3 separate regions of the Homo sapiens genome follow, and regions 1 and 3 are each linked to region 2. The links are contacts of gene promoters, found by promoter capture Hi-C in blood cells and fetal thymus (Javierre and others, 2016). All regions are on one chromosome and are shown on one strand. The core of a region is centred on a gene start or on the middle of the fragment in contact, and the rest is flanking DNA. Distances in the headings are between cores, read along the strand shown.

What was found. The method cuts DNA at HindIII sites, captures the fragments that hold promoters and counts their contacts. A CHiCAGO score of 5 or more calls a contact.
Region 1: a contact is called between a fragment that was not itself captured here and the fragment with the promoter of ARHGAP18 in region 2, in 13 of 17 cell types (neutrophils, naive B cells, naive CD8 T cells and 10 more). The highest score is 11.7, in neutrophils.
Region 3: a fragment that was not itself captured here is called in contact with the fragment with the promoter of ARHGAP18 in region 2 in 2 of 17 cell types (naive B cells and neutrophils); the score reaches 6.1 in naive B cells.

The regions. Positions count from the first base shown.
Region 1 is chr6:130,021,946-130,025,773 of GRCh38, forward strand. It overlaps L3MBTL3 (L3MBTL histone methyl-lysine binding protein 3), which reads left to right. Exons shown (of 23, transcript NM_032438.4): 2 at 282-360. Among named protein-coding and RNA genes, the nearest start is that of L3MBTL3, 5.3 kb to the left of the region's middle. The HindIII fragment of the contact is 3,353 bases long and covers 193-3,545 here.
Region 2 is chr6:129,707,373-129,711,548 of GRCh38, forward strand. ARHGAP18 (Rho GTPase activating protein 18) reads right to left here and starts at 2,805. Exons shown (of 15, transcript NM_033515.3): 1 at 2,652-2,805. The coding sequence starts at 2,764. RefSeq lists a silencer at 3,079-3,158. The HindIII fragment of the contact is 10,321 bases long and covers 1-4,176 here.
Region 3 is chr6:130,006,018-130,010,000 of GRCh38, forward strand. No RefSeq gene overlaps it. Among named protein-coding and RNA genes, the nearest start is that of L3MBTL3, 11 kb to the right of the region's middle. The HindIII fragment of the contact is 1,114 bases long and covers 766-1,879 here.

The DNA.
Region 1 (3,828 bases), core at 619-3,118, 310 kb after region 2:
GTTGACTCAAATGATCCTTGTAACTTTCACCTGCCTGTCATATACAACAGGAGAGACGTTATTGGGTGAATTTAGGACATGGGAATGATACGAATGATTAAAATCCATTTCAACTCATCTAGAACCAGCTTATTTTATTTTAATTTACCGAGTGGCATGGTGTAAAATTATGCCTAAGTGATTCAGAATGTAAGCTTCTTAACTGGGGATGGTGGATTTGAAGGTTTCTTTTTGATGACAGTGTTTTGATTTTACCTTCCCTCTCTTTAAACCAATGCTAGAACCCTTAGGAGAAATCTTGAGAGTGGACAGCAATTGTGAAGATCGCCAGAGAGTTCTGTGTTTCATCACCGCCGAAAGGTAAGACCCACTTGTTGAAATAAATTGCTTGACATACCTGCAAATGTTAAAAAGCTGCATTTGGAGATCAGGAAGGAGAGTATGAGACTGGGTTGGCAGAAAAACATCATTTTGTGGGGCTGCTTTGAATGCATGAATGTATTGACACTAAATGTAATTGTAGTTTGGATGAAACATTAGGAAGTTAGGAGATTGTCCTGGATAATCTTTGTATTGCCTTACTTACTAGATTCTTAATTAGCATTTTAGCACCTGTTTTCTACTGAAAGTAAATGTTTTATTCTTTGGAGTTGAAAAAGTGGAAAAACTGGAATAAAATGATTGTAAATTAATATAAGTGTTACATTGTTATACAGTGATATGGAAGATTCTGGAACTCTAAATGTCTTGGGGGGCCAGTGGTAAAATTTTGTGAATGAAATTTACATTGGGTGCTTTGGGGGTATTTGTCACATAACTTCTATGGCTTAAATCCAAGATGGGCTGACTTGTGCCAAGTGCCATGTTGCAGGGTTATGAGTGAGTTTCAGTGTGTTAGCTTAGACTTGTCAACTTTTGAACATACTTCCACAGGGAATACAGCTGTTGTCTACTAAGATCTCTTTAGTAATTTTGGAGGGTGTTGGCTTCTTTCCAATACTCCAGGTCCTTCTTTTAGGGCAAAGGTCATTCTCAGGCAGAGGGGACAGCCATCTCTGAAGGTAGAACATTTCAGTACATTTTTGCTACTCCAGTGCTTTCTACTGTTTATACCTTTTTTTTTCTTCCTTTAATCTTCCCCTCTCCTTTTCTGCCTGTTTTCCTGCCCTCTCTGTCTTGAGTAATAAAGGGGTCGCTAAATCTTGTTTGGCAAAAACAAAAGAAAACCAAAATTAGCCTACCTTTTTAGAGCAGAACTAACAACCTTCATTGGGCCAGGTGTAATCTAGAAATCAAAATGACTAATTATTGATATAAAAATGATTAACAGGAGTTTATTGTCATTTGCTGCTTGTGGATCATTTTGAATTGTATAATTAGCAAAATAAGTAGATCTGGTCCATGTGGATATGCAGCAGAGACAATGGGGCAAGAACAGCTATAGGAAGGTCCTGCAGACAACTAGGGTTCAAGAAGAGTAAAATCAGTTTCCTAAGATGGTGAATTTCATGTTTAAATGTGCTGAGTTGAAGACACTGCTTATTTTTCTTTGTCTGCGGAGTCACTGTGTCTGTGGATAGAATGCTAGAATAGGAATCAGAAGACTAAATGTAATAACTAGATATATCACCTTGTATATGTCACTCTACCTCCTTCAGCCTCCATTTCCTCATCTACAGAGCGGGAACAGCAATACTTGCCTTGCATCTTTTGTTAAAAGAATCAAATAAAATCAGATTTTGAGAACCATAAAGAGTTATTCAGATGTATAGTGGTCATATCATTTTACCTTCGTCCAGCTTTATGAAGGGCTGGAGGTAGATTGTCTAAGTCAGAATATAGTGATTTAACACTTGGCTAAAACTTTTAGATTGGTTTCTGATGTGTGTATTGTATGGACTTCTCGGAATATTTCTAGGAGTATATCTTGTCTTGAGAAAAAAGTAGTTTCCCTTGTATACTATTGGCTCTTTGAGGGAAGAGACCATGCTCTAACATGGTGCGGAATACAAAACCGGAAATTTATTTATCCCAAACTAGTCATTTAATAAGTAGAAGGAGTAAATGAAAGAAATACTTTAAAATGATGCCTAATTGTGAAAATGGTAGGGTGATGAAAGTAGAAGGGTTGGTGTGAGGGGAATTAATGTACTGTAATTAATATTTTAGTTGCATGAGTCTGCTGGGAGATGAGGATGAGAAAATAGGTAACTGGAGTAGTAATGATTTAAACTAACTATAGGGGCCAGAACATGAGTCCTCCGAATGACTGAATTTAGGAAATGTCCAAGTAGGGCTTTTCCTCCTTGTTTTCTAGACCTCTTTGGCTGCAATCTAATTATAGCCAACTATGTAAAATCTAGATTAAAAAAATTGTAAGTACTATCTATTATTATTTTTGATTTGATGCTACTGAACCTGACAAAATAAACCCTGACAGGTTTTAGTTTTACTTCATCTCCACTCTTTGGAGATTATCCAATCAATGTTCTAAGAATCCAAAAACCCAATAGGAGTGGAAAAAAGAAGTATATGTCCTGTTTAATTAGTCCCTGAGTAATTGAGAGTTGATTCTTAAAGAATTTTGACTGGGTTGGTAGTTTATTTTTAAGAATTCCATATTTCAGCCAATGCTGTTTATAGTAGTGCAGTTAGGATGGGGAATTTATGAGAGAACTTACTTTATGTGGTGGGTGGGATGTACCGTTGGCATCCCAAGGATGGATAACTTGAGTGATCCCTGCGGTATTGTTTCTACTAGTTACTTAACCAGTTTTTTTCTGAGCTCTTATGGTGTTGAACACTTAAAAGACGAGATCCTTGCTCTTGAGGAGTTCTAGAGATCCTTACTCTGGGACTAGACATAATGAGCTCTTCTAATAATAGTATAACAGTTGCACATGGTACCATTAGGAAAGGATGAGGGCTCTAGCACTCTTTGGAGCTGTTGAACCAGGAAACATGGATTTCTGGGCTAACTGATGCAGGACCATGGCATATCATCCAATACACATGGCACAATATAATGCATTCCTTTTTTAGTGCTTCGCCTTCAGAAATGAGTAAGAAGCCCTTCACCCACAGTCAAGGAATGTCTAGCAAGAGTCTAGCAAGATGGATTGAGGCGATTCTTTCTTTGACCAGTGTGTTCACAAGGTAACTTTCTGGTGAAGATCTACACTATCTTCCACTGTTACCACTTGCCACTATTGAGGGATTTGTTCCTCACAAGGATTTGGGAATGCTTATAGTATAGGTAAAGATAGTGTCTTTAGAGAGAACTATTTATATGTTCATATGGGTGCACATTTATATGTGACATCTTGAAGTTCAGCGGATCCATGGAAGATATATTTTCTAAAGGGCTTCATTATCTAACAGGAATATTCTCAGATTATCTCTTTACTGTATTAAATTATTTCATTGGTGGTTGTGGATGTAAGTCAATAGTGGGAAATGATGAACGGATTTGTATTGACTGTGGCAGCTATGCAGTGGGTGGATGAAAAGAAGCACCAAGAAAGGGTATCCTTGATATATAACTAAGCTTGATTTATGAAGTAAAATTGGGAAAGACCTTTAGAAAATTCCCATTTGGGAGACAAGATAGTTTGGAGGAATGAACAAGGATCTTTGAGAGGAACTTGAGTAAAGTTAAGTTGGGTGATCTTGGATGAGGGAACTTTCCTCATAAACTGTAGTTTCTTTCTGAGTAGACTTGGAATTGATTAGTTGGATGGTGATTATAAGAATGATATGTATATTATATGTAACAGTAAAATGCCTTCTGCATTATTATTCTTTCTCCCATATATACTGTAAATCATT
Region 2 (4,176 bases), core at 1,555-4,054:
ATCTTGTGATAAGAAAAGTTATACTTCCGTGCTATCTTCTATAATTTTTAAATGGGTAGGAGGAAATGCAGAATCTAATTTAGCTTTTATTTTTTATTTATTTATTTATTTTTTGAGACAGGGTCTCACTCCCTCACCCAGGCTGGAGTGCAGTGGCGTGATCTCAGCTCACTGCAATCTCTGCTCCACCAGCCTCAAGTGATCCTCACACTTCAGCCTCCTGAGTAGCTGGGACCACGGGCATGCACTACCATTTCTAGTTTGTTTGTGGTTTCTTGTTTTTTTTTTTTTTTTTGTATTTTTGGTAGAGCTGTGGGGGCGGGGGTCTTTTTTTTGCCCAGGCTGGTCTCTAACTCCTGAGCTCAAGCAATCCACCCACCTCAGCTTCCCAAAGTGCTGAGATGACAGGTGTGAGCCATCACACCCAGCCTAATGTAGCCTTTTTAAGAGTTTTGTTTTGTTTTTACTTTTTGGAGAACTTCTTTAAATAGGCATCAACCATCAACCTTGCACCTTGGAGCAGCTTCCCAGGGCTTAAAACAACACCTGACCAACCCAGCCAAAGCCAAAGCCAAAGTCCAGTTCACCGCCCCGAAACCACTATCACCATTCTTAGGTGGTCACCGAGGACCCCATCCCACCTTCAAATCCTCCTTCCTTCTATCCATCCCCTCCCCCATAGCAATTACAGTATCTCAATCCTTTCAGGCTAAACAGGGTATCTCCCAAAACAACAACAAGTTTATCTGATTCGTTAGCCCTTAAGGGTAAAAGCCATTGAAAACTAGCCCTACTCCCTCCTTCCTCCCTGCCCTCAAACCAGGCTCCCATCTTCTCCGGTCAATATCAGGAACGATCCCTAGAACTAATTCAGTGGTGGGAAGTTGGGTCTGGTATGGGCAGGCTACGTGACAGCCAGCAAAGGAGCTCACCTGGAGCTGTGGCCCCACACAGGGCACTTGCCGTGTGGGCAGCTGCCCACCCTGCCACCTTAGTGCCTCTTGGTTCTGCTTCAGCCTAGGCAGAGAATGATCTGATCCTCTCTTATTCTCTCAACCCACTCAAGTATGGGCCACCCACACTGCAAACACAGAATAATGAGTCTCCAGAACTGGAGATGCAGCCCCAGACAAAGGCCTAGAACTCCAGACCTTCCAAAAACTTAACTAATCCCTGGGGTTTGAGTCCTACGTGAAAATGAGAGGTTAGGACTCAGTCCTTAAGGTCCTTTCCATTCTCACAATCAAGATCCAAGATTCAGCTCAGGTCCTCAGGCCATTCAGCCTAAAGTCGGAGAATGTCCTGAGCTTGTATAATTTTGGCAATTTTGACTGACATGTGGAATCCAAGTTATGGCTGGGTATGGGGTTGGTGTTGCAGGCTGCTTTACTGCTTAATGATTACTAATACATTACAGAAAAATGGATGAAAACACTTCAAGATCTCTTGATTTAATGATTTAACATTAAGTCATTTAAAATGATGGAAAATGAAATGGTAACACAGCTAAGGCACAAGCACCAAATCTTTTTTATCTTTGGAAATGAATTCATTCAATGAAATACATACTGTGGATGCTATGTGAGAAACAGTTCCCGTCAGCTGGGAGTCTAACACTGAGTATTACAGCCATTCCTTTGATTTTTCTCCCTCCCTCATATTTGGAGATTTTAAAACAAATGAAAGGCAGCATTATTTCAGCTTAAGGCACAGGCATAAGTCACATAAGAACAAAGAAGGTTTTATTATCACATTAAGCATTGAGGAGGAAATGTGCTTACCGATAACTAATTTAGTGTTCTAGGCTATTAGGTTAGTATTTGCTTCTTGCAATCTTCTAGGCCAATATTTACTATTTATATCTTGATGGAGGTAAAAATGTTCAGCTAGTGAGAAGGTCATTAAGGAGAGAAAGAAAAAAAAAAGCCCTTGGAAAATGGAACAAAGTACACAGATAGGGAGAAAGGTACCCTTTGCGCCTCAGTGGTCTATAGAACATTTGCCCTCTCTGCCTATAAAGTGATTTAACATTAACCACATTTCACTCCAGCAGCAGAGTGCTATCTCCTGACAAAAACTCCTTTTTGAAAGCCTGGGGGAAAAAAAATCCACATACACAAAAGAATGTGAAACATATTGCCACAGGCCAGTGTCTTGGGCTTTTTGCCTAAGAGGTTTGCTTTCAGCAAAGAGAGGGGGGAAAAAAAACACTCTAACAACAACAGCTTGTACAGTACAGTGAACAGCCTCCCTGCTTTTTGGCAGACTTTCCCAGCGAACAGTTCCAGTGGCAGTGCCTTGAGCCCATTCAAGAATTCCATTTCATAGGAAAGGAAGTGTTTCAGATAGACCTATTTGATCTTTCAGCATGTGCAAATGCACCTGCTAAATAGCTAGTCTGACAGCCCATATAGCCCTCTCCCCAGTTCCTTCTTCTCTGTCTTCACCAGTAATCATATGGGTTATTTCAGACTTGGACTAGGTGAGATGAAAAGTACATAAAAATCACGCCAAACGTTGCTACTGCTGCTGCACGAGCTCAGGCTCGACGTGCAGATGGAATTCCCTTCTCCCCACGCCAACTTCCCTGTCACTTTCTTCCTGGAGCAGGTAAGAGGGTTTTGTTTTGTTTTCAGCTTCCGAAGGCTTACCTCGAGGTGGCTTCCTCCCCTGCCTTTGCATGGCTGTTCCCGACGGTCTGGTCCTTGCCGCTGGGGTGGTAGGCTGTTAGTACCACTCCCTGGGAACTGGAGAGCCAGCTCATGGTGAGAGAAGGGACATACTTTCTGCGATCCTGACACAGAGAAGGGGAAAGAAGTTCCTGTCTCGCCTGGCAACTCGCTCATTAGCATTGGCCAGCTCCTCCCCGCAGGCTGGCGATTCACACGGGGAGGGGCGGGGTCTGTCCAGGGAAGGGCTTCCTGCCTCTCCAATTAGAAGCTGCAACTCACAGCATGGTTTCAACTCTGGACAATTGCACTCTGGGCGGCTTTGGTTAAAGGAGGCGAAGGGTGGAAGCGACGGGTTGCACCCACCCCCAAGTTAGTCTGATCAGATTAAACTGCCAGAACGTATATTCAACTCATCACTGTAACTACAAGCCGTCTTACTTAGGAAACCATGAGTTGCTGCCAAGGCTTTTTTTTTTCCCTCCCCAATTCCTCTATCTTATAATTTCTGCTACTTAATGTAACATGAGTAAAGGCATTTCTTAACCCCTTCATGTTCAGCGTTAAAATTAGCCATAGTAAAAAACAACGAACCCGCGGCAAAACTCTGCAATCCAGACGACGAGAAAGGCTTGATCCTTGTGTCCGGTTAAAAATGCCCTCATAAAAATTGTGTGTCCTGGAATGTCGTCGTCTTTCACATAAAGCCAATCTCAAATATACGTCTTGTTTTAGCAAAATATTTTTCAGCACCAAAAAGGGATAGACCTACCAATGCTCTGTTAAGTGTTATTGCTGAGAACAAGAGAAGTCCCTGCCATTTGTTGAGCACCTACTATATGCCAAGCTCTCATGGACGGGGGTTTCACATGTATTATCTCATTCCATTCAATTCTCTCTCTCTCACACACACACACACACCGTACAAGATAGGTATCACTATCATCTGTGTTATACATAACACAAGGAAAGTAAGGCTGAGGGACGAGTTAAGTAACTTCACTAAGATAACACAGTTGCTAGTGCCAGAAGCTGGATTTGAACAGAATTCTAGGCTACATTCCTTTTATTTTTCACCAGTATGCTCTTCTTTGTTTTGCAGATTAAGAAACAAGATCAAAATTATCATAAACACAAAAGACAGCTCTGTTCTTTCTCCCCATCTCCCCTCCAAAAAAAAAAATCACTTTTTTGGTTTGTTTTTGAATCAGGGTCTCACTCTGTCACCCAGGCTGGAGTACAGTGGTGATTGTAACTCACTGCAGCCTCAACCTCCCAGGCTCAAGAAATCCTCCAGCCTCAGCCTCCCCAATAGCTAAGACCACAGGCATGCACTACCACGCCCAGCTAATTTTTTTATGCTTTGTGGAGAGGGAGGGTCTCACTGTGTTGCCCAGGCTGGTCTTGAACTCCTGGGCTCAAGCAATCCTCTTGGCTCAAGCTCCCAAAGTATTGAGATTACAGGCATGAGCCACCACGCCTGGCTTCTACTCTGACATACCCAGTA
Region 3 (3,983 bases), core at 73-2,572, 300 kb after region 2:
AGGCTACATACTGGGGGTTGGGGACCCCAACACTAAAAATTAGAGCATCAGGAAACTTCTTCTGTGTTCCCTGGCAACTCCTCACTTTTCTGTAAAGCAGAATCCTATTCACTTCCTTTGAGAAGACTTCGTCTCTCACCCTCTCATTTTGGTAAGATTTTATTATAGCCTCTTCTGCGAACTCCTTTACTCTTTTACCATTTATGATCCTCCCTTTGGGATTGATCTTGTGTCTTCTAGAAAATGCACTTATTCAGGGACAACCTTGGGTTTTCTCACGCCATCCAGGAGGGCTCCAAACCTCTGAGGAGACCTGGCTGACACCTAGATTGCAACTTTGTGAGGCCCTGAGCAGAGGGCCCAGCTTAGCTATGCCCAGAGCCCGGACCCGTAGAAGCTGTAAGATCATAAATGTGCATTAAGTAGCTACCTTTGTGGTAATTTGCTGCATAGTGATAGAAAACTATATACTGCCTTATTGGGAAGATGTATAGTTTATAAGAAACTGATTCTAGCTAATGTTAGATAGAGAAAAAAAAAGCAAAATTAGACATGTCACGGAATTGAAGGAAAAGCTAAACCATCAGGCCTTAGGGATAATAGGCACAAGGGTGACCGTGAGGGTATCACTGAGGAATTTTGAGGAGTGAGCTTTGAAATAATCTGCCTACATCCACCCTTGTTCCTTATCCCACGGATAAGATTTTTCCTGACAGACTCTAACTGGCCTCATTCTCATCACCTGCCCATTCCTTGATGTCGGGAAGCTTGAGAATGGACAGACCCCAAGACCATGTGGAAGGAGAAAGGAAGTCTCCTAAAGGGAAAGTGTGATGTTCTTAAGGAAAACAAAGGAGAGGGATTTGAGACAGGCCCACACAAAAGAAAGCCACTTTGCTACTGCATAGGGTTGTCAAGAAAAAACATGAGATAATGCATATAAAATGCTTCGCATGGTTCTTGGCACACAGTAGTCACTCAGTACAGTTTAACTATAATTATTAAGCATCAGGGGCCTATGCCTCATCTAGAAAGCAAAAGAAAGAACTCTGTTCTTGAAAATGAAAAGAAAAATCCCAATTTGATAAGGGGAAAAATCCCTGACACTCAAAAGGACAGGCTTAAATGTCTGTTGCTACCTAGATGATTTATAATCAAAGGGTTATCAGAGGTTAGGAAGGTATAGATTTCAAAGTGCTATTTGTGCTGATTATTGCTATGTACTCAAAGTCAAACCAGCTATGAGATATAATCCTCCAAATTCCAGTGGGCCACAGACAGAAGCCAACTATTGGTGGCTGTTTCTCTTCACACAAAACTCTTAATGGTTGGCTCACAGCTCTGATTGTAAGTGGGCTGGATGGTACCTAAGCCCACCCATCCATCCATGCTTAAATCATGGCTTTAAATTTGAAATTTTGGAAAATTAATTCAGATATGAGATGATAGTCATGTTTACTGAGGATCATGAACAGAGTCCACAATATGTTTGTGTACTTGGTATTGAGTGATGTAGTTGTGTTGTTGAAGTGAGGCTTTCCTTTGATCTTTTTGTTGACGAATGCCATTCACTGGTCAGTACAACCATTCTGAGGAAGAACTGTCTATCAGGTGGTGTCATTTTGGGCCCAGAACATCACTGACGGCTGGAGTTCACTTCCATTCCATTCTGTTCTACTCCATAAGTATTTATTGAGCTCCCATTATGTGCAATGAACTGTATTAAGTGCTTTGATAGATTAAAAAATGAATAGATAAGACAGAGCTCCTGACCTTAGGGTATTTTATTATCTCAAAAGAGAGACAAACGTTTACAAGGACCAGACACAATACAGAGCAGGATGTGACAAGTGCTAAAATAGATATAGAGACAGAAGAAAGCTTTAAATTTCAAGTGCGCATACCTGAAGTTTTCATATAAAGGGTGAATTTGAGCCCTTTTAAATCATATGCCCACTAGAACAGGCAGCATTTTATCTGTTTTTGTATTCCTAATTCCCAGCACAGTTCCTGGTACTTAATAGATGCCAATAAAGATGAATTTTTAAATTGCTTGAGGTGTGGAAAAATAGACATAAAATTTGCCATTTTAACCATTTTTAAGTGTACAGTTCAGTGGCAGTAAGTACATTCACATTGTTATGCAAACATCATCACCATCTATCTATGGAACTTTTTAAATCTTTCAAAACTGAAAGTCCAGGACCTATTAAACAATAACTCTTCATTCCTCTCTGCTTCCAGCCCCTGGCAAACACCATTGTACTTTCTGTCTTTATGAATTTGACTACTCTTGTTATCTCATATAAGTGGAATCATACAATATTTGTCCTTTTCTGATTGGCCCATTTCACTGAAATGTCGCCAAGGTCCATCCGCGTTATAGCATGTGTCAGAGTTTCCTTCCTTTTTAAGGGTGAATAATAAAGTTTTCACTGGATATATATAACTGCATTTTGTTTATCCATTCATCCATCAGTGGACATCTGGATTGTTCCCATTTTTGGCTATTGTGAAGAATGCTGCTATGAACATGAATGTACAAATATCTTTTCAAATGAGCTAGAAATTGGGATAGATCAAGAGTGGTCAGAAAGAGGGCATTCCAAGTTCAGGAAATAACATGAACAAAAGGAAAGAAGAATGACAATGCACTAGGCTTGCCTGGTGTGGCTTACTCATGGGTTGGGGCTGCACATGGAAAGGTTGATCTGTTCCAGAAGTTGCAGGGCACTAAGTACCATACCAAGGAGAAAAAGTTTTTCTGAAGTTATTAGGAACCATTTAAAAGGGGTTGGAGCAGGTAAGCAACATTACCAACACTATACTTGAGGAATACAATTGTAATGGCGAAGATGTAGTTAGAAATATACGGTAATAATCTTGGCAGGAGACAAACTAGGGCAGTGGCAGAGGAAATAGTACCAGGAGGGAGTAGAGTTATTTTTATTTTTGTTTGTTTGTTTGTTTGTTTGTTTGAGACAGGGTCAGGGTCTGGCTCTGTCACCAGGTAGGAGTACAATGGCACGATCTCGGCTCATTGCAACCTAGGCCTCTCAAGCCATTCCCCCACCTCAGCCTCCTGAGTAGCTGGGACCAAAGGCACGCACCACTATGCCCAGCTAATTTTTTTGTATATTTTGTACAGACCGGGTTTCACCATGTTGCCCAGGTTGGTCTTGAATTCCTGAGCTCAAGTGATCCACCTACCACGGCCTCCCAAAGTGCTGGAATTACAGTCGTGAGCCATTGTGCCTCCCTGGGAGTAGAGAGATTATAATGGAACTGTTAATAGGATCTGTTGACCAACTGGATGTGGGCGGCAGGAAGAGGAAGTTGTTGTTAAATCAGTGCCTGAGAGCATGGTGACATTACAAACTGAGATGAAGAATGCAGAGGAAAAAGAAGCAGGCAAAAACAATAGCTACCATTTATTGAGCTCTTATGTGTTAGGTACCTCACATGCATTATCTCACTTAATCTTGATAATGACCTTGTGAAGGACGGATTATTGTACATGGAAGGATACTCTGTTTATGTAGAATAAGTTACTGTCTAATATCTAGTAAAGGGGTGGAACTAGGATTCCAACCCAGACCTAATGGCAAAGTTCAAACTTTAAAAAACAAAAAACACCATACTATTCCATTGTCTTCAAACACATGGAATATCCATGTGGACTCATCTCTCAATAACTCGGCAATGTAAATTTCAGTTAAATGCTCATGAATAAAAATATAGTCCATCTCTACACAAAGATGACTTCAAGCGATGCTGAGGAAGAACATAAATAAGCTGACTGAGGAGAGACTGTAATGACAGAAGACCGGAACTTAATTCCGGAAGCACAAGTATCTATCGTGTGAGAAGACAAAGTGGGACTGGGTTTGAGGAATAAGAGAACAGCCAGAACAATGAATTGACAAAGACGCTGCATGAGAAGGCCATTTCAAAGAAGTGATCAGTCAACACTGTCAAGTGCT